Regions from separate parts of the Homo sapiens genome. Here regions 2 and 3 are each linked to region 1. Evidence: promoter capture Hi-C in 16 types of primary human blood cells and fetal thymus (Javierre and others, 2016). All regions are on one chromosome and are shown on one strand. Each heading gives the region's core, a stretch centred on a gene start or on the middle of the fragment in contact. The rest is flanking DNA. Distances are from core to core; before and after follow the strand shown. Region 1 holds the start of PEX26 (peroxisomal biogenesis factor 26). Region 2 overlaps MICAL3 (microtubule associated monooxygenase, calponin and LIM domain containing 3). Region 3 overlaps MICAL3 (microtubule associated monooxygenase, calponin and LIM domain containing 3).

Region 1 (3,183 bases), core at 214-2,713:
CACCTAGTAAGGTTCCTCCAGACACCCAGAAGCAAAGCCTTCTGCATTCACTGAAATGAGCTCCCACCCAGTCCCCTAAAACACAGCCAGGGCTCTCCAGATCATCCTTCTTTGTGGTCAACTTTAGCTATTCTACCTACCACCTCCCTAGCGTGGCCTAACCCAAGTTTACAATGCAAAGAAATGACTCCCTCACCTGCCAGACGAGGCTGGTGGCATTAGAAAGAGCAATGCAAGCCCAAGGTTTTTTTCTCCGGATTCTTTTCTTTTTCTTCTTTTTGGTAGAGAAGAGGGCTCATTATGTTACCCAGGCTGGTCTCGAACTCCTGGGCTCAAGCAATCCTCCTGCCTCGGCCTCCCAAAGTGCTGGGATTACAGGCGTAAGCCCCAGCTCCCGGCCCTGAATTAATTCTTTAATCCAGTCCTCTAATTGGACCAGAACGCTGCTCCTGCCATGACCCCCATTCCCCATCATCAGCCAAGGTCAGGAATAAACAACCTTGGGCGGGGCGGGGAGGGCGGAGGTACCTGGGAGAGGACTTTTACCACCTGCTTACTGACAGAACTTAGCACTTAATACACATTCAGCCTTCCCATCATGTCATTGTACCTTGGAACAAGGAGCAAATAATTGGCTGTGGGATCCCCACTAAGTTTTTGTTACACGACTTCCCTTCTCTGTAGAATGGGCACACGATGAGCGACCACCCTCTCGGAGACAAACCACTGATGAAAGCGAGGTGTAAAGCTCCTTGTGGGCAATCTGGGAAGGACAGAACTCCTGAGACCTTGAGCCCCACCACAAGAGCGCCCGGAAATCGGTTCATTTCCGAGCCCAGCACGTACGTGCCCGCGGGTTCCTCTGCCACGGCGTGGTTGGCCAGACTCTGCCAGGCCCGCTCGCAGGTCTCCAGCGCCGCCCGGAAGTCCAGGTGCACCACCAGGAGGTCGGCCGCCTCCTCCAGAAGGTCCACGGCCGGCGCCCGGGCCGGGACCGCGCGCACCGGCTCGCTGCTGCGCAGGGGTCCCCCGAGCCCCCTGAGGGGGGCTGCAGAGGTCGAAGAATCGCTCTTCATAACGAGTCCGGGTCCAAGGCCCAGGTCCTCAGACGTCGGAGTGACCGCCTCCCCAGAGGCTCCGGGATATCCCGAGTTGGCCTGGGCGAAGAGGGAGAGTCCTCATCTCTTTGCCCACACCCCTTCCCGAGGTCGATTCCCCGAGAAGGAAAAGGAAGGGGCCTATCTGAGGCAAAAGCTGGGCTCGCCTGGAGGCTGGGGAAGCAGTTTACACGTCAGATTTGCAGGATTCTTGCATCCCTGGAATACCTGGCCCTAGCTTCTCCGGCCCCGCGACACGTGCAGGAACTGCCTCAGCTCCGGGCTCCTGGTTACGATCAAAGACTCACCTCGCCTCCCGGCAGCGGGCGCGGACATCTTTGCGCTCGCCCAGCCCCGCAGCCGCGCGGCGTCCCGGCGGCGCGGAGTACTCTAGGAGTTGTAGTTCCTCAGCTCTCGGCCCATCGCCTTCTGTAATGGAAGTAGGAGGCAGAGCGCGGACTACAACCCCCAGCACGCCGCGCCCCGGAAGCCGCCCCTGTGCCGTGAGAAAACAAACTGGTGCTACAGCTTCGGGGTGCGGAAGTCAAAACGAAGCAAAACCGAAGCTGTCTTGTGAAATGGAGGGGTCCTCACTAACCAGTTCCAGCGGAGGCTAACGGAAGAAGTGCCAGCAATGGATGTGCAGCTACATGCACGCTTTTAATTCAGAGCTTCTGCGACGGTGGCGATCAGGGGATCTGTAATGTAATGTAATGTCAAGGCTGACGCAGAGCTGATCAAACATTTTGGCAACCTTAGTCTTGAATTGATTCACACTTTCTCCGCGTTGCCTCCGGAGTTTGCTGTAGGGTAATGAATATTGCCTGGTGAGGATGAGGGACTTAGGGTGGAAACCTTCACAAGGACCACTGAGAATATGTTGGTCCCAAGGGCAATGTTCCAAAATGAATAGTGACCCCACCGAGGCGGGGTTGGGGGCGCTGAGCATAAGGGCCTCATTTTTCTCACTGCTCTCTGCCCCATCCTGAATTTGCTGTTAAAAAACAACGTTAAATGCAGATACCAATTCCACTTCCCCACTGTTGTCACTTCCGATCTGTCTTTATATTTCTCCTTATCATTTATCACCATCTACATACCAATGTCTATATTTTACTTATTTTTATTGTCTATTTCCTTCCACTATGATATAAACTCACAAAGGCAGACGTTTTTGTCTCTTTTGTTCACTGTGGGAACCTCAATGCCTTGAACAGTGCCTGTCATCTATAGGTAGTCAAAAAGTATTTGTGGAATAAATGAAGTCCTGGTTTCACTTTTATCTGGTTACAGGGTCCAGACTTCTCTTTCCTCGGAGTCTGGTGGACTTGGTTCTGCCTCAGCTTCCCATGCAGACTTTTCTGCAAGAGAACGGAAATCCCAGAAGATGGATGTGTGCATGTCTGGTGACAAGGGCAGGGGATGTATGATGTGAGCAGGTGCCTGTTTAATCTAATTTCTAGGAGAGCAAAGATTCTAGGGAAGCTTTGGAGTGAATTCAAAGGGTAGAGAACTGGGGAGAAACTAAAGCCAAGAGGATCTAGTACAAATGTGGGAAGCTTGGCAAAGCCCGGGTGAAACAGAATATAATAATAAGTGTGATTTGTGGATCTGTTTAAAATTATTATTATAGTTACAATTTACCAAATACTCTGTTCCCAGTACTTTACTATAAAGTGCATTATGTACGGTATGGTTTTGTTTTTCACAATGTCCTTATTTTACATTGTGTAACTTGCTCATGGAATGACTGTGTATCCCCTGAATAGCAAACATACTTAGTTCTGTCCCTGCAGAGCAGAGTAGAGCTCAATACACATCTTTGAACCAAAAGAGCCTCGGTTTGACTGAGATTTTGTCGCTTACTAGTTGTGTGACCTCGGCAATTTATTTAAATAAGCTCTGATTTCCTCACCTGTAAAATTGGGATAACAGTTTGTCCTTAGCTCCCAATGGCTGAGGGAAGAATTAAGTAATATTGCGCATAAAGCGCCATGCGCATTAAGCACTGAAAATGTGAGCCAGGCCTGGGAAGACGAACATGCTCAGAAGCGGCCAGCTCTAAGCGGCTGCTGCCTGGAAAAGT
Region 2 (3,183 bases), core at 421-2,920, 290 kb after region 1:
AGCTGCCCAGAACCCCTGTGTGGGTCCTCCTCACAGCTTTCTGTCCCCTCCTCCACCCGGTGCCTGCCTCACCCTGGCGCTAGACCATCTGGACCACTCATGTGATGAGGGTGCATTTCCGTTCTGTTTTGGGCCAGGCCAACAGCAGAGCTGCCACTCTCACCCTCCCAGTGAGAATTCCGGCTCTGCAGAACTCGCCCTTGTCTCAGTTTGGGGGCCAGGGCATCACCTTCCTCCGCACATATGTTAAAGAAGGTTTCAGGATGGGCCCTCATCCACACAGGCCAAGAGGGTGCAAGGTGGGACCCTGGAATCATGTGGCTGGTGAGAATTCCCTCCTCCCAGCCTAAGATTCACCCAGACGGAAACGCGAGTGCTGCAGTGGATGCTGGGATGCAGGCTGGTGCCTCTCAAGCAGATCAGCGACTCCCGCCCTTCCTTCCGAAGGCGACGGGCACCTGCCTTGTGCCGGATCTTCATGGGGACATAAAGGGCGAGCCCCGAATCACTAGCTCCTATAGCCAAACTGTTCCTTTCTCACGGTTCCGCACCAGCCTGGCTGTGTACAGCTCATCAAGCCACTGAGCTAATCGGGGTGGGGTGCTTGTCCATCAAAGCAGTCAGCACATAGCCCAGCGAGGAGCCATCCGGACCAGACCCGCCTGCCAGGGGCGCTCCAGCCGCCTGCCGCCTCCGTGGGCTGGGGCCAGCTGGGAGCAGAGGCCTGGCCCCTCCAAGGCGTCCCGCAGTGGAGCAGGCTGAGTGGCTGTGCTGACCTTGGGCTTTCCATGGGAACCACACTGTGCTTCAACTTGAACATTCATCCCAGCTGCAAAGGAGCAAAGAACCTGTGTCATCCTTGTCTGTCCAGAAGCTGCCATCTCTCTCCCATGCACATCCGGGAGATAACGCCGCTAGTGGCCGCCACAGCGCTGATTCTCCACCTGTTCTCACGTGAGGCAAAGGTCTCCTTTTCTTTTCTCTTTACTTAAAAAAGGGGAGAGGAGGGTTTCTAGATTCCATCTTCAAACCCCAGTCGTCCCATAAAATTGGACGTGGGAAAAGACCTTCACTGCCTGCGTGGCCTTTCCCAGACCTCTCCTCGAATGCCACAAAACCGGTCCAGCCCCGGCAGAGCCGCCTTCGGCCCTTGTAGCTCCTGCTGGCCCCACAACAGGGAAACAGTTTGCAAAGTGGCTTGGAAGGAGTGTGGCCTAGGGATCTGCTGTAAGTGGCCAGACGTAGCAGGAGAGCCCAGTGTCACCTTCTGGTCCTGGTCAGCCTTAACACTGTGGCATCCTCCACAGCACACACGGCAGCCTGCAGTCTGGAAGGTGGACCCGAGCCTTTGCAGAGAGGCGCCGCAGAGCCGCAGGCCTGCGCCCCAGCCTTCTGCTCCCGACTGTGAGGACACCCAGTTCTAGTAGAGCACTTTTTTTAAAGCTCCCATTTTGTAACCACTAGTTTGCGGTTGACTTGAGTACTCTGGTGACTTCCTGCGTCAAGCGTTCTCAAGCTGTGAGAATGTGCGCAGCTCCAGGCAGGTTTTCTCTCGGAGAGTTAAGTCTTCCCTTGAAGGCAGGGAAGCAGGATGGATACACATATATCACACGCATAAAACACCAGGTGCGGGAGCAGCCCAGACTCAAGGCTGACTAAACTGGAGGCTGAATACCGTGGAGGTCCACATGCAGCTTCCCTGGAGGGCAGGCCGGAGGCGCTCCCGCCCCTGGGCTTGAGGATGCTGCACCCCGTGGGCTTCCAGGCCTGCCCAGATGATGCCTTCAGGCCTCTGTCCCTGGCGGCCATCCTCAGGCCGATTTTGACCAGCAATGATAGACTCTTCTTAACCCTTTCAAAATAAATTTTTCAGTGGGACAGAAAGGAGAGTTAAAAAACATTTTTTTAAAGGTGGTAACATCTGACCCACAAAGGGAATGGGTCTGTTTTATGCAAAATAAAAGTTTTTCAAATAAATAGTGTGTTTCTTAAGTCATTTTACTGTATTTTTCAGGTGGATGGTGTAGGTGCAAGGTATGACGCATCTAGCTCGTGCCTGGGTGCGTGCAAGACGGTTTAAAGAATACATGGTTTTTTTTAAGTTCGTGCTTTTTTTTAGTCCTCCATAATATCCTGGCTCAGCCACAACTGCTGTCACTTGAGTAAATGTCTTAGGCAGCCAAGTTTGAGAAGCAGCCACTCTTCAGACGAAGCCCCAGTAGCTTCTGGAAGGGAAGTGTGCTCTTTGAATTGGAGATACTCTGAGTCAGGGTGATGCTGTGGTCCTGGCAGCCCTCCTTCCAGCCCTGCCTGGCTCTGTCCTGCAGCACAGCTGACCCGGGAGTCCATGGCATGGGGTCTGCAGCACCCACGCCTAAACCTTTCAGATGTTTCAACGATCTCGAGGTCATTCAGTGCGTAGGGTCACTGCTCGTTAGCCTGAAAATTGTCCCCAGGAGATTACAGGGAACAGTCCTGGCCAGCTCCTCTTTCTTTGTTCTAAGAAGCCTCCGAGGCACGCCCCAGCTGTCTCTCTAACCCCTCCCTCGGTGTGTTGCATTGTTGGGAGCACGGCTGACCCTGTGACCATCCAGGGGCGCCATGCAGGGAGGGAAAGACCGCAGCAGCTCTGTGCACGTGAGCCACACCGCCTACAGGCAGCTAGAAGCCACTCAGTGGAAGCTGGCTCCCAGTCCTTCCAGCTGCGTTCCCAGCTATTCCAGAACAAAGAAAGGCCTGGCTGGGACAAATGTGGGCGTGTCAGGTAGAACAGAGGACAAAAATGGATGAGCAGCTCAAAGTGCATATCCTGTGGCCCTAGAGGACATCCCGTACAAGGAGAGCTGGGTCACTTGCCTGTTGGGAAAGGAAATGGGGCTTGGTAGTCACCTGACCCCCAGGCTCTTGTTCCTCAGAAGGGCTTGCTTGTCAGAGCTGCACCAGGCAGCCTTGGGCTGCAGTTCACAGCCACCTCAGGTGGCAGGAAATGATAAGTATTGCTTTAGGGAGGACACCAGAAAGGAAGGCTGCTGGGCCAGGCCAGAGCCACTGTCAGAAGCACACAAAAAGGCCACACGCCGTGGCGCACGCCTGTAATCCCAGCACTTCTGGAGACCGAGGCATGAGGGTCACCTGAGGTCAGGAGTTCAAGACCAGCCTGGCCAATATGGCGAAACCACGTCT
Region 3 (3,183 bases), core at 471-2,970, 270 kb after region 1:
CCCCGGCATCCAGCCAGTACACACAAGAACTGTAGTTGCTATAAGTGACAACATGGTTTTTTTTATTTGGTTGGTTTTTGGTTTTTTTAACAGCTTACTTGGAAATCTCAGGATTTCTGCAGTTTAAATGATGTAGACACTAGAAGTTTAAAATGAGGCAAGAGCTTTTTTTTTTTTTTTTCCACAGTTGGATCACAGCAAATCTAACAGCAGTTCCTATTCCTCATGACAAGCAAGTCTCAAACAAGAGGCTCCCAAACAAAGTAAACAAAAACCCAGCCATGCTGTAATACCGCAGCAAAACGTGTTACCCACCTACATAAAGGGACTCGCTGACAGGCGTGCGTGCTGTCAGTGAGCTGTAGCTCTCCCGGACAGACCCTGAACGGTGGCAGGTGAGCACTATGCTGCAGGCCAGAATTTAAATAAACAAATGAATAAAATGTCCTCTTCACTAACACATTTACAGGGAGTTCAGCCACTTACACACAGAGAGAGGCGGAAACTTGATCCTGAGGGCTCCACAAAATCAAGCTCACCTGGCAGCACAAATTATTGGGTTGATGGTCTCCAGTGGGTGAAAAGTTGGCATATAAAACATTTGGGCCGGGCGCGGTGGCTCACGCCTGTAATCCCAACACTTTGGGAGGCCGAGGTGGGCGGATCACCTGAGGCCGGGAGTTTGAGACCAGCCTGACCAACATGGAGAAACCCTGTCTCTACTAAAAATACAAAAAATTAGCCTGGCATGGTGGTACATGCCTGTAATCCCAGCTACTCGGGAGGCTGAGGCAGGAGAATCGCTTGAACCTGGGAGGTGGAGGTTGCGGTGAGCCGAGATCACGCCATTGCAGTCCAACCTGGGCAACAAGAGCGAAACTCTGTCTCAAAAACAAAAACATTTGAAGGTGGTGTGTCTTATTTTAATAAGGGCTCTTGAAAGAGCTACAAGTATTTGTACATCAGGTATTTGGGAGACCCCTTGGAATGCCTTTGGAAGAACCTTAGGGTTCCACAGAGGCTTGAAAACCACTGTCGTAGTGCAAACTCCTTCCTTTAGATGAGTCTTCAGCAGATATCTCTATCCAAAGATGTTTCTGTTCTGTTTTTCAAGATGGGCCTTAGTAGCTCTGTTGGGATATTTCGTTGTGATGCATTTGAGAAACTCTCTGGAATTTTCAGGAATTATGGTTCCTACCATAAGAATATAAGAATTTCCAAATATGTTCCTTCTCTTACGTGAATACATCCCTTCCAAGCTGGTCTCCCATCACAGTTCCCCGTGGCCCTGCCCCTCCTTGGCCGATGCCGTCTCTGAAGCCCAGGTGTGCGTGCTGCTGCTGCTTTCTCTCCTGCTTCTGCGTCCCGTTCCTCTTCTTAGTCTTGTGGCACCTGGCTGAGCCCTGAAGAAGGCAGTGGCAGCTGGGCATGATAATAATCTGGAGTCTTCTCATCATGGCAGTCTGCCCTTCCCTGGGGACTGTAGTAAACTGGCTGGAACCTGCCATCATCTCACTTGGGGGTCTCCAGCTTCCATCACCGTCTGAGGGCGTCAGACTTTGTTAGCCAAGCTGCCTTTCCAGAGAAGCGCTCTAGCATGGACCTGCCATCCCGTTCTCCGTTTGTCTAAGGTATGACGACGTATGGCCAGGCTGCAAGGATTAGCTTCAGCACCTTTGATCCTAGGGCCAGGCCACAACTTAGGTAATTTCCAGTCCTGGGGCACCTGGGAAGCCTTTTTGTTACAAAAACACTGACTCAGCCTTGAGCATGCATTGAAAAACTGGGGCAGGACCGCATTCTACCACTGTGTCTGCTGTGTCACTCTCAAGGGGAGGCCCTCAGGTGGGACCGGAGGCTGTGAGGATCTGCATTCAGAATGCGGGGTTTGGAGAGAGGGCAACACCATGGCGGCCGAGTGCTGTGCTCTGTGTGTCTTTATGATTCTGGGGAGATGAGGACCGCCTGCTCAAGCCCAGCCTCTCGGCAGTGCCCAGTCTGCATCTCAGGCGTGGAAATTACATAGCGCTCTTGGCCAGACAGCTGTGGAACTACCAGGCTAGGAGTGCCCCAGGCCAGCACACCTCCAGGAGCCTTCGGCCGAGTGCCTGGGGGAAGAACTCTGCATGAGTCTCTGCTCGTTTCCTGTTGTTAAGAAGGCCGACTGAATTTGGAGGCCTAAGCCTCGAAACAGGATCCCCTTTCTCTCAAACCCATTCGGCAAAAGTGGGTCTGCAAGGCATTTGATAGAGTCAGCAGTGGGGTCGTGGGAATTCCTGGGAGAGCACTGACTGCACGAAACCTAAGGATTTCAGAGCTTCTGTAGGACGTTTGCCTCCTGCCTCCAGGCCCTCAGCCTGGGGCTTCCAGTATCAGCAACTGACACGCAGGCAGCCCCGCTCTATTAACTCTTAGTTAGAGAAGGTTCAGTCCCAGGGGCAGGAGTTCCCAGCAAAGCCAAAGCCTCTGTCCTGGCTGATCCCTGGTGTACGTGGGATCATGTTGATAGTGACCATTGACTCCCCACAGTGAGTTTTAGTTACCGCCCTCCTCCCGCAGCCACGCAGTATGCAGATACGGCATGTGTGGACATGCAGTATGTGATGCACTTAGGCACGCATGCCTTCCAGCCGTTCCTCTGCCGCCTCGCTGTGTCTGTGTTTCTTGCGCTCCATATCATTGATTGCTCCATATCATATCATTGATTGGGTATGGGGGGACAGGAGGACTACCTGATGGAATAACTCTCTCTTCACCGATTCCTTGTTGTAGACTATTGGGGAGAGTCTTATTACAGTGACCTCATCGACTTGCATCTGGGTGGTATGTATGGCAGCGCCTGTGCTGACACTAACCCCGCTGACGCCCTTTCTCCACCCACGCTTCCCAGTCCCTGCTCACAAAAACAAGGAGAAATCAACCCAATAACCAAATGGCAAAAGCACAGACCCTTTTCCAGCTCAAAACAGAGCAGCGTGCTGATCTCCCCGCTGCCCACATGTGCTCCAGAGGAAGATCTGAGCTTGCTTTTGCTGCCTGGGGTCGTTTTTAATTTTTTATAATAAAACTTTGCCCACCCGACTCCACCAGCCTTGCATCTGCGTCCTGGTCCCCTAAATACACACACTCCAACACAGCTTTTGCCCTGAATCTCATCCCTCACTGCTTGTAGGAATCATATCT

What was found. The method cuts DNA at HindIII sites, captures the fragments that hold promoters and counts their contacts. A CHiCAGO score of 5 or more calls a contact.
Region 2: a fragment that was not itself captured here is called in contact with the fragment with the promoter of PEX26 in region 1 in 16 of 17 cell types (megakaryocytes, erythroblasts, endothelial precursors and 13 more); the score reaches 17.1 in megakaryocytes.
Region 3: a contact is called between a fragment that was not itself captured here and the fragment with the promoter of PEX26 in region 1, in 15 of 17 cell types (erythroblasts, total B cells, naive B cells and 12 more). The highest score is 16.5, in erythroblasts.

What each region holds. Positions count from the first base shown.
Region 1 is chr22:18,076,270-18,079,452 of GRCh38, reverse strand. It overlaps PEX26 (peroxisomal biogenesis factor 26), which reads right to left and starts at 1,463. Exons shown (of 5, transcript NM_001127649.3): 1 at 847-1,463. The coding sequence starts at 1,076. LOC105372853 (a long non-coding RNA gene) reads right to left here. Exons shown (of 6, transcript XR_001755424.2): 6 at 1,557-1,795. RefSeq lists enhancers at 640-689, 1,170-1,399, 1,730-1,789 and a silencer at 1,050-1,099. The HindIII fragment of the contact is 13,258 bases long and covers 1-2,584 here.
Region 2 is chr22:17,786,443-17,789,625 of GRCh38, reverse strand. It overlaps MICAL3 (microtubule associated monooxygenase, calponin and LIM domain containing 3), which reads left to right. Exons shown (of 32, transcript NM_015241.3): 32 at 1-1,977. Among named protein-coding and RNA genes, the nearest start is that of LINC00528, 11 kb to the right of the region's middle. RefSeq lists a silencer at 893-1,105 and enhancers at 2,964-3,013, 1,534-3,183. The HindIII fragment of the contact is 7,814 bases long and covers 1-3,183 here.
Region 3 is chr22:17,803,451-17,806,633 of GRCh38, reverse strand. The region is part of intron 29 of MICAL3 (microtubule associated monooxygenase, calponin and LIM domain containing 3); the gene reads left to right. Among named protein-coding and RNA genes, the nearest start is that of LINC00528, 28 kb to the right of the region's middle. RefSeq lists enhancers at 983-1,821, 1,822-2,662, 1,657-2,856. The HindIII fragment of the contact is 3,985 bases long and covers 1-3,183 here.